3 separate regions of the Homo sapiens genome follow, and regions 1 and 3 are each linked to region 2. Evidence: promoter capture Hi-C in 16 types of primary human blood cells and fetal thymus (Javierre and others, 2016). All regions are on one chromosome and are shown on one strand. Each heading gives the region's core, a stretch centred on a gene start or on the middle of the fragment in contact. The rest is flanking DNA. Distances are from core to core; before and after follow the strand shown.

What was found. Contacts are between HindIII fragments. The CHiCAGO score rates a contact against its expected background, and 5 or more counts as called.
Region 1: a fragment that was not itself captured here is called in contact with the fragment with the promoter of CAD in region 2 in 1 of 17 cell types (total B cells); the score reaches 5.5 in total B cells.
Region 3: a fragment that was not itself captured here is called in contact with the fragment with the promoter of CAD in region 2 in 2 of 17 cell types (total B cells and naive CD8 T cells); the score reaches 5.7 in total B cells.

The regions. Positions count from the first base shown.
Region 1 is chr2:26,972,862-26,976,024 of GRCh38, forward strand. All of the region lies in intron 1 of MAPRE3 (microtubule associated protein RP/EB family member 3), which reads left to right. Among named protein-coding and RNA genes, the nearest start is that of MAPRE3, 3.8 kb to the left of the region's middle. The HindIII fragment of the contact is 5,007 bases long and covers 1-3,163 here.
Region 2 is chr2:27,215,957-27,219,208 of GRCh38, forward strand. It overlaps CAD (carbamoyl-phosphate synthetase 2, aspartate transcarbamylase, and dihydroorotase), which reads left to right and starts at 1,413. Exons shown (of 44, transcript NM_004341.5): 1 at 1,413-1,677; 2 at 1,921-2,060. The coding sequence starts at 1,596. It overlaps ATRAID (all-trans retinoic acid induced differentiation factor), which reads left to right. Exons shown (of 7, transcript NM_001170795.4): 6 at 567-664; 7 at 888-1,201. The coding sequence ends at 992. RefSeq lists a silencer at 1,285-1,514. The HindIII fragment of the contact is 10,576 bases long and covers 1-3,252 here.
Region 3 is chr2:27,034,754-27,037,975 of GRCh38, forward strand. It overlaps TMEM214 (transmembrane protein 214), which reads left to right. Exons shown (of 17, transcript NM_017727.5): 3 at 382-532; 4 at 841-975; 5 at 1,217-1,299; 6 at 1,734-1,839; 7 at 1,952-2,033; 8 at 2,324-2,425; 9 at 2,808-2,949. Among named protein-coding and RNA genes, the nearest start is that of TMEM214, 3.4 kb to the left of the region's middle. The HindIII fragment of the contact is 4,998 bases long and covers 1-3,222 here.

The DNA.
Region 1 (3,163 bases), core at 218-2,717, 240 kb before region 2:
GTTTTATGAGATAATGATGGAATGCCTTTTAAACTGCTACTATGAGGAAACAGGACTAATACTTGTCTTATACATTGCCTATCCAGCTGTTGCTGAATGTAATTGTTAAGATCAAGGAGAGGGACATGATTTGAACCAAGTTAGACCTAAATCTATGTAATGGTATTGAGGTTTTGTAGGACTGTATTCTTGATTCTAAGACACACCAGCAATTTACCAATAGCTTTTAGGTAAAATAATCTAATGCTACCAGATCAAAATATATATGCTGATTCCAAGGTGCATCCTCATTTTAGAAACATTAAAACCCTCGGGAAATGGCAAGACTTGAGGGAGGGATTTGTGAATCTTGGAACTGAGAAAGAATGCTATTGATAGTATTCCTGTGTGATGATGCCGTTTCTGACCTACCGTCCTGAGAGTGCATGCATTGTGAAGCTGAGTTTCTTCTAGTCCTTCCTGCACGCCAGCACACATTGTGGGGTTGTATTTGTAAGATGACTGGCTGGAGTTAGGCATAGTAGGAGGCTATTGAACGGAGGAAAGTTCCCATATGAGAATCCAACCCAGGGTCTTAATGTGGTACTCTCCAGAAACTGAGCCAACTAACTGGCAGCAAACGTCTTATGAGCTATTCCTGAATTTAGCCGAGTAACATTTGTCAGAAGCCGAACAGAAAATATAGTTTTTTTTTTTTTTTTTTTGAGACGGAGTCTCGCTCTGTCGCCCAGGCCGGACTGCGGACTGCAGTGGCGCAATCTCGGCTCACTGCAAGCTCCGCTTCCCGGGGTTCACGCCATTCTCCTGCCTCAGCCTCCCGAGTAGCTGGGACTACAGGCGCCCGCCACCGCGCCCGGCTAATTTTTTGTATTTTTAGTAGAGACGGGGTTTCACCTTGTTAGCCAGGATGGTCTCCATCTCCTGACCTCATGATCCACCCGCCTCGGCCTCCCAAAGTGCTGGGACTACAGGCGTGAGCCACCGCGCCTGGCCAGAAAATATAGTTTTTTAAAACAGAATGCATCTGCCCTGATTTGCTTACAGATACATTTGTAAAGGTCCCAAGGCACATGTCTCCCTCGCTTAGGATGTTAGCACTGGAGGTGACCCCAGATGGTATAGTTTAATGCCCTCATTTCTAAAGTTGACACAAGACACCAAGAGTTAAATGACTTACCTAAGGTCACCCAACCCATGCAGAACGTATGTAAAAACACTTTGTAAACTGTGTACACTAGGCAGATGAATGTTGGTGGTTATTAGTGGCTGAGTCAGGATTAGATCTCCAGATTTCCAGACTAGAGTTATTCTTCAACACCACATTGCCTCATCCCTCATAATGTTCCAAAGGGTTTTAATAAAAATAATTTAGTAGTCCGTAATTAGCCCTGTAGGCAAGGGCTTGTTTTGTCATCTGAGATGCTGCACAGCCAGGCAAAATTTTGTGTCAAACTGTCTAACTAAATATTTATTCTTGCCACTTTAAAAATAATATTTTTTATCACACATTCTGACTTCAGGAAGGTCTTTCTTTTTTTAATTTGCATCAACTAACAGAAAAGCAAATGTGAAGTTGGGTATTTGAAGTCTTTTCTACTTCTTATCTGTGAGACTGCCGCATTCCAGAAAGCAAGGTGGAGAGGCAGATGGGGCTGAGAGGAGGAGCGTGCACATTGGGCAGCTGCGGGCTTATCTTCCACCTCTCAGAATGGAACCTTTTGTAGTTTCTGGGAGCCATAAGGACTTCTAAACCCTCTCCTTGGGAAGCGCGGAGGCAGCCTGACCTCTGGAAGCAGGCAGACTTGAGTTCAGATCCCCATCCAGCCATCTCCTGGCTGTGTGGCCTTGGGTGAGTTATGTTACCTCTGAATGCCAGTTTCCTCATTTATAACCCTGGAATAATAACTATCTGTTTTACAGGGTTGTTGTGAAGATTAAATGAAAGGGAGTATGTAGAGTGCTTGCTTCATAAGAAATAGCAATGATTATTTTATATTGACTAAAGCATAAAATAGCAAATAATGGTTTCAAAATTGTTTCGTGATTTAGGTCCATCTTGGACTCTCAGTTTTGTAGCCCCCATCTCTCAGCACCCCTCTCGGTATTTGACACGAACAGAGAAAAGGTTTGTACCGGGAAGACCCGGCACTTGCATTATTATTTCAACTGCCAAAACCGGAGTATATGAAATGTATCTTTGCTCCATGTATTCAGCCAACCTGAAAGACTGGCAGGACAGGAGCATTTGACTTTAGGAGGCACAGATGTGGTGTGCTTGGGTGTGTGGTGGGGGTGGCTAGTTCTCCAGCAGGGAGGCCAGTCTGGGGAGTGGTCTTCATTTGAAATAGAAAAGCTGCTGAGCTCTTGCTTGTGAGGGACACACATGTGGTCTTTATTGACTTCCTCAACTGGTAGAGGCATAGATTTCATCGGTGACTTTGCTAAAATCAGCTTCTGCATCCGTGAGATCCAGGGGGCAAGGGAAAGGAGCTATTCATCTTAAGAGGGAAACCTTGCCAGTGAGCAGAGGTAAAGGGAGGTCATTTTGGATGGAGAGAATTACAGACTGGCTCAAGGCAGAAACTACTGAGTAATTAAAGAACCAGGGCAAGCTGTTCAGGTGCAAGAGCAAAAGTGAATTTAAATTCCTAGATAAATTTCAGTAGGGAAGGAAATACCCATGTATAGACATCTAAAGATTGAAAAGAAACGCAATAATGTTTACCTCTGGGAGGTGGGATTTGGGTGTGGGGAAGGGAAAAGGAGACTCAAAGGGGAACTTTTACTTTATATGTTTTTGTATTTGACTTGTTATAAGAAGCATGTATGCTTTAGTCATTTAATGAAGACCAAATAGAATGGGTAGTGATTGTTGTTCAGTAAATACATTTTGGTACAAAAGAAGCAGCTGCCTTTACTTGGAGCCTCCCATGCCTGGGGCAAATAGGGTTTGACAGCTTCAAGCAGGCCCAGGCAGTTTGCACCAAATCAAGCTCTTAAGTGAGGGCAGGACCCTCCAAAGTGGCTGCTTCCCGGTCAGCCCAGGGTACTTAACTGACCACCTACCCCATCAACTCTTCCTAGTCTTTTCACTCCCCTCTTGAGAATAGTCCCCTCCATCTGTTGACCAGCTAAAATAATCATAATTATTCTAATAAGCTAA
Region 2 (3,252 bases), core at 163-2,662:
TGAGCAACAAGGCTGTTTATTTCACCTGGGTGCAGGTGGGCTGAGTCCAAAAAGAGAGTCAGCAAAGGGTGGTGGGATTATCATTAGTTCTTACAGGTTTTGGGGTAGGCAGTGGAGTTAGGAGTGCTGTTTTGCGGGCAGGGGATGGATCTTACAAAGTACATTCTCAAGGGTGGGGAGAATTACAAAGAACCTTCTTAAGCGTGGGAGAGATTACAAGGAAACTTCTTAAGGGTAAGGGAGATTACAAAGTATATTGATCAGTTAGGGTGGGGCAGAAACAAATCACAATGGTGGAATGTCATCAGTTAAGGCTATTTTCATTTCTTTTGTGGATCTTCAGTTGCTTCAGACCATCTGGATGTATACGTGCAGGTCACAGGGGATATGATAGCTTAGCTTGGGCTCAGAGGCCTGACATTATTGTTACTGTTTTTATCTGTAATTTTCTTTCTTCTTCCTTTATCCTAGCAATGATTGAGAGAATCTAAGTTGAAACAGATAATTGAGAAATATGCCTAATGAAATGGATAAAGTGATGTTCTCTATTTCTCTCTGGCCTCCAGAAATGTGTCCTGAGAATGGATCTTGTGTACCTGATGGTCCAGGTCTTTTGCAGTGTGTTTGTGCTGATGGTTTCCATGGATACAAGTGTATGCGCCAGGTGAGGAATTAGGCCGTCTAACTAGGGATACAAGGAATGCATAGAGCAAGTCTTCTCAGAAAGGAGAGCCACAAGACCAGGAGCTGATACAAATTTCCTATAGGTGGAAAACTATAGAATTGCCCTAGACAAAGTGATAGGTATATTAGGAAAGAACTAGGTGTTAGGATGTGGCCCTCCGTGTAACGTTGTATGGGGGTGTTTTTTGGTCTGTTGTTCACAGGGCTCGTTCTCACTGCTTATGTTCTTCGGGATTCTGGGAGCCACCACTCTATCCGTCTCCATTCTGCTTTGGGCGACCCAGCGCCGAAAAGCCAAGACTTCATGAACTACATAGGTCTTACCATTGACCTAAGATCAATCTGAACTATCTTAGCCCAGTCAGGGAGCTCTGCTTCCTAGAAAGGCATCTTTCGCCAGTGGATTCGCCTCAAGGTTGAGGCCGCCATTGGAAGATGAAAAATTGCACTCCCTTGGTGTAGACAAATACCAGTTCCCATTGGTGTTGTTGCCTATAATAAACACTTTTTTCTTTTTTTTTCCTCTCTTTCTTTTTAAGGAAAGGCGCCCTGCCTTTACGTGTTTCTTGCTTGGGGTGGGAGGGACTGCTTTAGGGCAGCCGGTTTTTTCAGGTTTCCCCCGGTTTTGCAGTGCGGAGACCACGGGGGCCCACTCCCCGTGGCTCCGCGGACCCCGCCCCTTACGTGCCCGGCCCCGCCCCTCACGCCGCCTGTGTCCGCGCCGCCGCAGTCTCTGCTGCTGCCGCCAAGCGCGCCCGAGGCTCCTACGCTGCCGCGCCCGGCTTCTCTCCAGCGCCCCGCGCCGTTAGCCACGTGGACCGACTCCGGCGCGCCGTCCTCACGTGGTTCCAGTGGAGTTTGCAGTCCTTCCCGCTTCTCCGTACTCGCCCCCGCCTCTGAGCTCCCTTCCCATGGCGGCCCTAGTGTTGGAGGACGGGTCGGTCCTGCGGGGCCAGCCCTTTGGGGCCGCCGTGTCGACTGCCGGGGAAGTGGGTAAGCAAGCCCGGTTAGGCTGCAGACCTTATCCCACTCTGTGATGCGCCTCTCCTCCCAACCTTCCCCGTCCAGACCCCGCCATTTTCCCGCCAGCGTACCCCCTTCCCCCATTCGGTGCCCATGGGCCCCAGCGCCATAAACCCCTCGCGACCAAGGCAGCCTCCACTGGGGCGTGCTCATCGCGCGGGGAGTGTTCCGAAGGGTGCCCTACCGGAGCCCAGCCCTGCTTCTTTCTTGCAGTGTTTCAAACCGGCATGGTCGGCTACCCCGAGGCCCTCACTGATCCCTCCTACAAGGCACAGATCTTAGTGCTCACCTATCCTCTGATCGGCAACTATGGCATCCCCCCAGATGAAATGGATGAGTTCGGTCTCTGCAAGGTAGCCACACCCAGTGCTTTCTCTACATTCCTTTTCAAGTCAGTAATTGTTAACTATTAGTGAAGTAGGAGACGTTGACACCCTGCTGGGCATCCTGCAGAAAACATACCCACTGAAGTAGTAAAGTCAAGGACTAAGATCACTAGTAACTGTAGTTAGGGGTTGTTAAGTGCCTTGGGAGGCACAGAGTGTTGGAGGCCTCAGGAAAAAGCTACCGCCTTTGTTAAGGGCATCAAGGCTCCAGGTATAGCTGAAAGCATTCTGTATGTAGTGAAGGCATGGATCAAGGAAAAGTAAAAGAGGTGTAAGGGAACAGCCTTGTCCAACTTGTTAGGCATGCAGAAGTCAGGAGAAAAAAGCCTGCAGATAAGTTAAATCCGGTGGGCATGGAGGGACCTGAAGCCAAAGCAGAGTCAGCTTAGTTTGGTAAAGGATCCATTGAAGGTTTTTTTTTAGCAGCAGAGTCAGATGGGAGCAGTGCTTTTTAGGACTACATAAATTAGTGGAAAGAGACTGGAAACTAGGGTCACATACTTCTCTGTGACAGTGAGTGCCAGTTTACCTACAAAACCAGTGACATTATCTTCTAGACCTACTGACATGGCCTCGTCTGATTCTCTGCTTTTCAGTTGTGTTCTTACCTCTAGGTGAGAAAACTGAGTTTCTTCCTACAGTGAGGTTTCCCCTATTCCTTCACCTCTGAAATTTGGAAACTAAGTTGCCCTCTGACAGTTCAAGCATTAAAAAAAACCCAACATATAGTAATTAAGGTAATAGAGGAAGTCAATCTGGCCTAGAGTAGTATCTCTCAAAATTTGTTTGGCCTCACTGCAGGTGTAAGCCTTTAATTCTTAATTTGCCTTCCCAGCCACCCTGACGCTGGGGAGAGTGAGCTCCGGATAAAGGACGTACATGTTGTTCTTCCTGGAAAAGAATTTCTAGGTTCATCACAAACCTACAAATACACTGCATTCTAGTTGATAGTGAATTCTTGTGAATTTGGTTAACCTTTGTCAGTCATCACCTTTGTCAACTCTAGACACACTGACTAAATTGAGTTTATAAAACTACAAAATTGAGGCCTGATTAGGATCAGGGTGGGAAAGGCCTCTTGGAGCCACTCGCACATATAAATGGATTACTCCACCTGGCCAGGGAGGGTTCTGCCAAACTATCCTTCAGATCCCTGGAC
Region 3 (3,222 bases), core at 237-2,736, 180 kb before region 2:
TTGTATTTTTAGTAGAGATGGGGTTTCACTACGTTGGCCAGGCTGGTCTTGAACTCCTGACCTCAGGTGATCCGCCCACCTTGGCCTCCCAAAGTGCTGGGATTACAGGCGTGAGCCACCGCGCCTGGCCCTCTGTTTTCCTCTTGAACATGTGGAGGGCCTGAGAGGATAGGGCCTGAGATCAGCATTTTCAGCTGTCCTGTTCCATTCTTAAAGATGTAGGTACAGCAGAATTGCAGCATTCCATGTTCTTATGCTTAAAAATGGAATCCCTTCTTCCTACTGCCACCTAGTTCAACCATTTTCCCACCCCTACCCCATTTCTTTACTCCCTCACTCACAACTCGCCATGGTGGGGGGTTGGGGGATTGTCCCTGGCAGCTGGATGTGGCAGACCTGCAGAAGGAACTGGACAAGAGCCAGAGTGTGTTCTCTGGAAACCCATCCATATGGTTGAAGGACCTGGCCAGCTATCTCAACTACAAGCTACAAGCTCCTCTAAGTGAACCCACGCTGAGCCAGCATACTCATGGTAAGTCCTTCCAGCTTCCTCAAGCTCAGACAAGTTCAAATAAATTCAAAAAGGGTGGTATAACAGATCCCAGTGCCCCACACTGTCCTGATTTCCATGGGTGATTTGGGCTGGTCTCAAATCATCGTGACTGTGAATGTTTCTGGGCCTCATTCTGTGATCCTCCCTCTGGGCCTCCTCAGAGGAAGGATCCCAGCCTCAGTGCAGGGGCCTTTGCCTCCACTCACCATTCCCAGGGAGAGCACCACAGTTCTCAGAGCTGATGGGTGTCTGGTCCTAGCACTCACATTGAGGCCTATGGGCCTTAGATTATCCCTACAGCCTGGTGAGCCGGGAGCTACGTGGGATCATCCGAGGGCTGCTGGCGAAGGCAGCAGGGTCTCTGGAGCTCTTTTTTGACCACTGTCTGTTCACCATGTTGCAAGAGCTGGATAAGACACCAGGTGAAAGGGGCACGGGAGGGATGACCATCTTGGGAGCCTCCTCCTTTTTTTCCTGCTTCCAGTACCACTCAGTGGTTCTGTTTCCAGCAGAGAAATGTGCTAACCTTAACACTTTTTGGAAAGTGTGGAGGAAGTTAGGAGTCAGTGGACCTGGGGCCTGGGCTCACCGCTGACAAATGGGAGATTTCAGGTTTGGGATGCCAAATAATGTGAGTAGGTGTGAGAATGTGTATCTCTCCAGGGGAGTCACTACATGGTTACCGCATCTGTATCCAGGCCATCCTGCAAGACAAGCCCAAGATTGCCACGGCAAACCTAGGCAAGGTGAGCTCTCAGTGATGGTGGGGATGCTAGGAAGCTAGGACTGGGGAGGCTGGGCAGAATCTATGTTGTTGGACTCAGGTTTGGGATAGTGGAAGACCTGTAAGCCTAGTAATAATGGGTAACACTATTAGCACCTATCCTGTGTGTGTGCTCTGGAAACATAGGAGCAAGGTACTGCTATTATTTCCCATTTTTATAGATGAAAAGATTGAGCCACAGAGGAGTTCAGTAACTTTCCTAGGCTCAGTCATCCAGTAAATGGCAGAGTATGGGCGAAGCCCACAAACAGAACCTGCACCACGTGGCCATAGTGCTCCACTCTTGCTCGGCCTGTCCTCCCTCTTCCAGTTGACATCTCCCTTCCCTCCTGGCTTTGGGGGGTGCTCCTGGTGTTTTGTCCTATCCCAATCTGCCTTCCCCACCGGTCTCCTCAGTTCCTGGAACTGCTGAGGTCCCACCAGAGCCGACCAGCAAAGTGTCTCACCATCATGTGGGCCCTGGGTCAAGCAGGTTTTGCCAACCTCACCGAGGGACTGAAAGGTAACAGGGAAATAGGGAAGAAAGAGGGAGGGTCTCGGAGCTGGAAAACTCCTCTTTGATGCCCCCAGTAGGTGCAAGCCTGAGGCCTCCCTCGTGACTTTTACCCCTGCAGTGTGGCTGGGGATCATGCTGCCTGTGCTGGGCATCAAGTCTCTGTCTCCCTTTGCCATCACATACCTGGATCGGCTGCTCCTGTGAGTAATGGGAGGGCAGCAAGGGGAAGGCTCAGGGTGTCCCAAGTGGCTGTTATAGCAAAATGGGAGGCTATGATCTTGGTCTCCATGGATATGAGGAAAATCAGGACCAGCTTCTCCCACCACCTTAGAATGTGATGGTGAGGAAGGAAGAAGAGGGAGCTATTAAGGGCTGGCAGATGGGGTAGAGTTTATACCCTTTTTCCTAGATGTTGGCTTAGCTGGGGTCATGGCCAAAACAGCTGGCATGGGTGGTGGTGTCCAGCGAGCCTGTTTCTTCATCCCCACAGGATGCATCCCAACCTTACCAAGGGCTTCGGCATGATTGGCCCCAAGGACTTCTTCCCACTTCTGGACTTTGCCTATATGCCGAACAACTCCCTGACACCCAGGTAGGACTGCTCTGGGGCACACCTGCTGAGAAGGGACCACAGCACCAGAACCACACTACATATTCCCGTCTCTCCTTCCCCAGCCATCCTAGATCTGAGATTTGCAACCTGGAAGTTCAAGAGTAGGTTTCAAGGGAACAGTGACCCCTTGAAATTATATGGACCCTTGAGTGTGATTGGCATATGGGCATTTTCTTAGGGATAGGGTCCATGGCTTTCAACAGATTTCCAAGGAGTCTCTGAGTAAAAAGATTCAGAGCCATTGCAAGGTCCTCAGTGGCTATTCCCCACAGGCAGGCATGGGCTCTGAAGCAAGCAAAAGGTTCATATCATACAGCTCCACTTATAGCTTATGCCTGTCTTTCCTCCCCACCCCACCCAGCCTGCAGGAGCAGCTGTGTCAGCTCTACCCCCGACTGAAAGTGCTGGCATTTGGAGCAAAGCCGGATTCCACCCTGCATACCTACTTCCCTTCTTTCCTGTCCAGAGCCACCCCTAGCTGTCCCCCTGAGATGAAGAAAGAGGTGAGGATATGGTGGGAGGCTTTTTCTCCTTCCCCAGGGGTCAGCTGTAGCGGTCCCTATCTGCTGACAAAGGCCTTGCCTTCACAGAGCCCATTCTGAGGCTTTTCCTTAGCTCCCTGTTGACAGCTGCCTGCCCCGCTCACTCGAGCTTCACCCTCAGAAGATGGATCCCAAGAGACAGCACATTCAGGTCTGGGTGGTTTCTGATGCCCGTCTCTTGCAGATAGTGATCTTTGAGCTCAAAGCTCTAGCTCAGGAGCCCCAGCCTCCTGC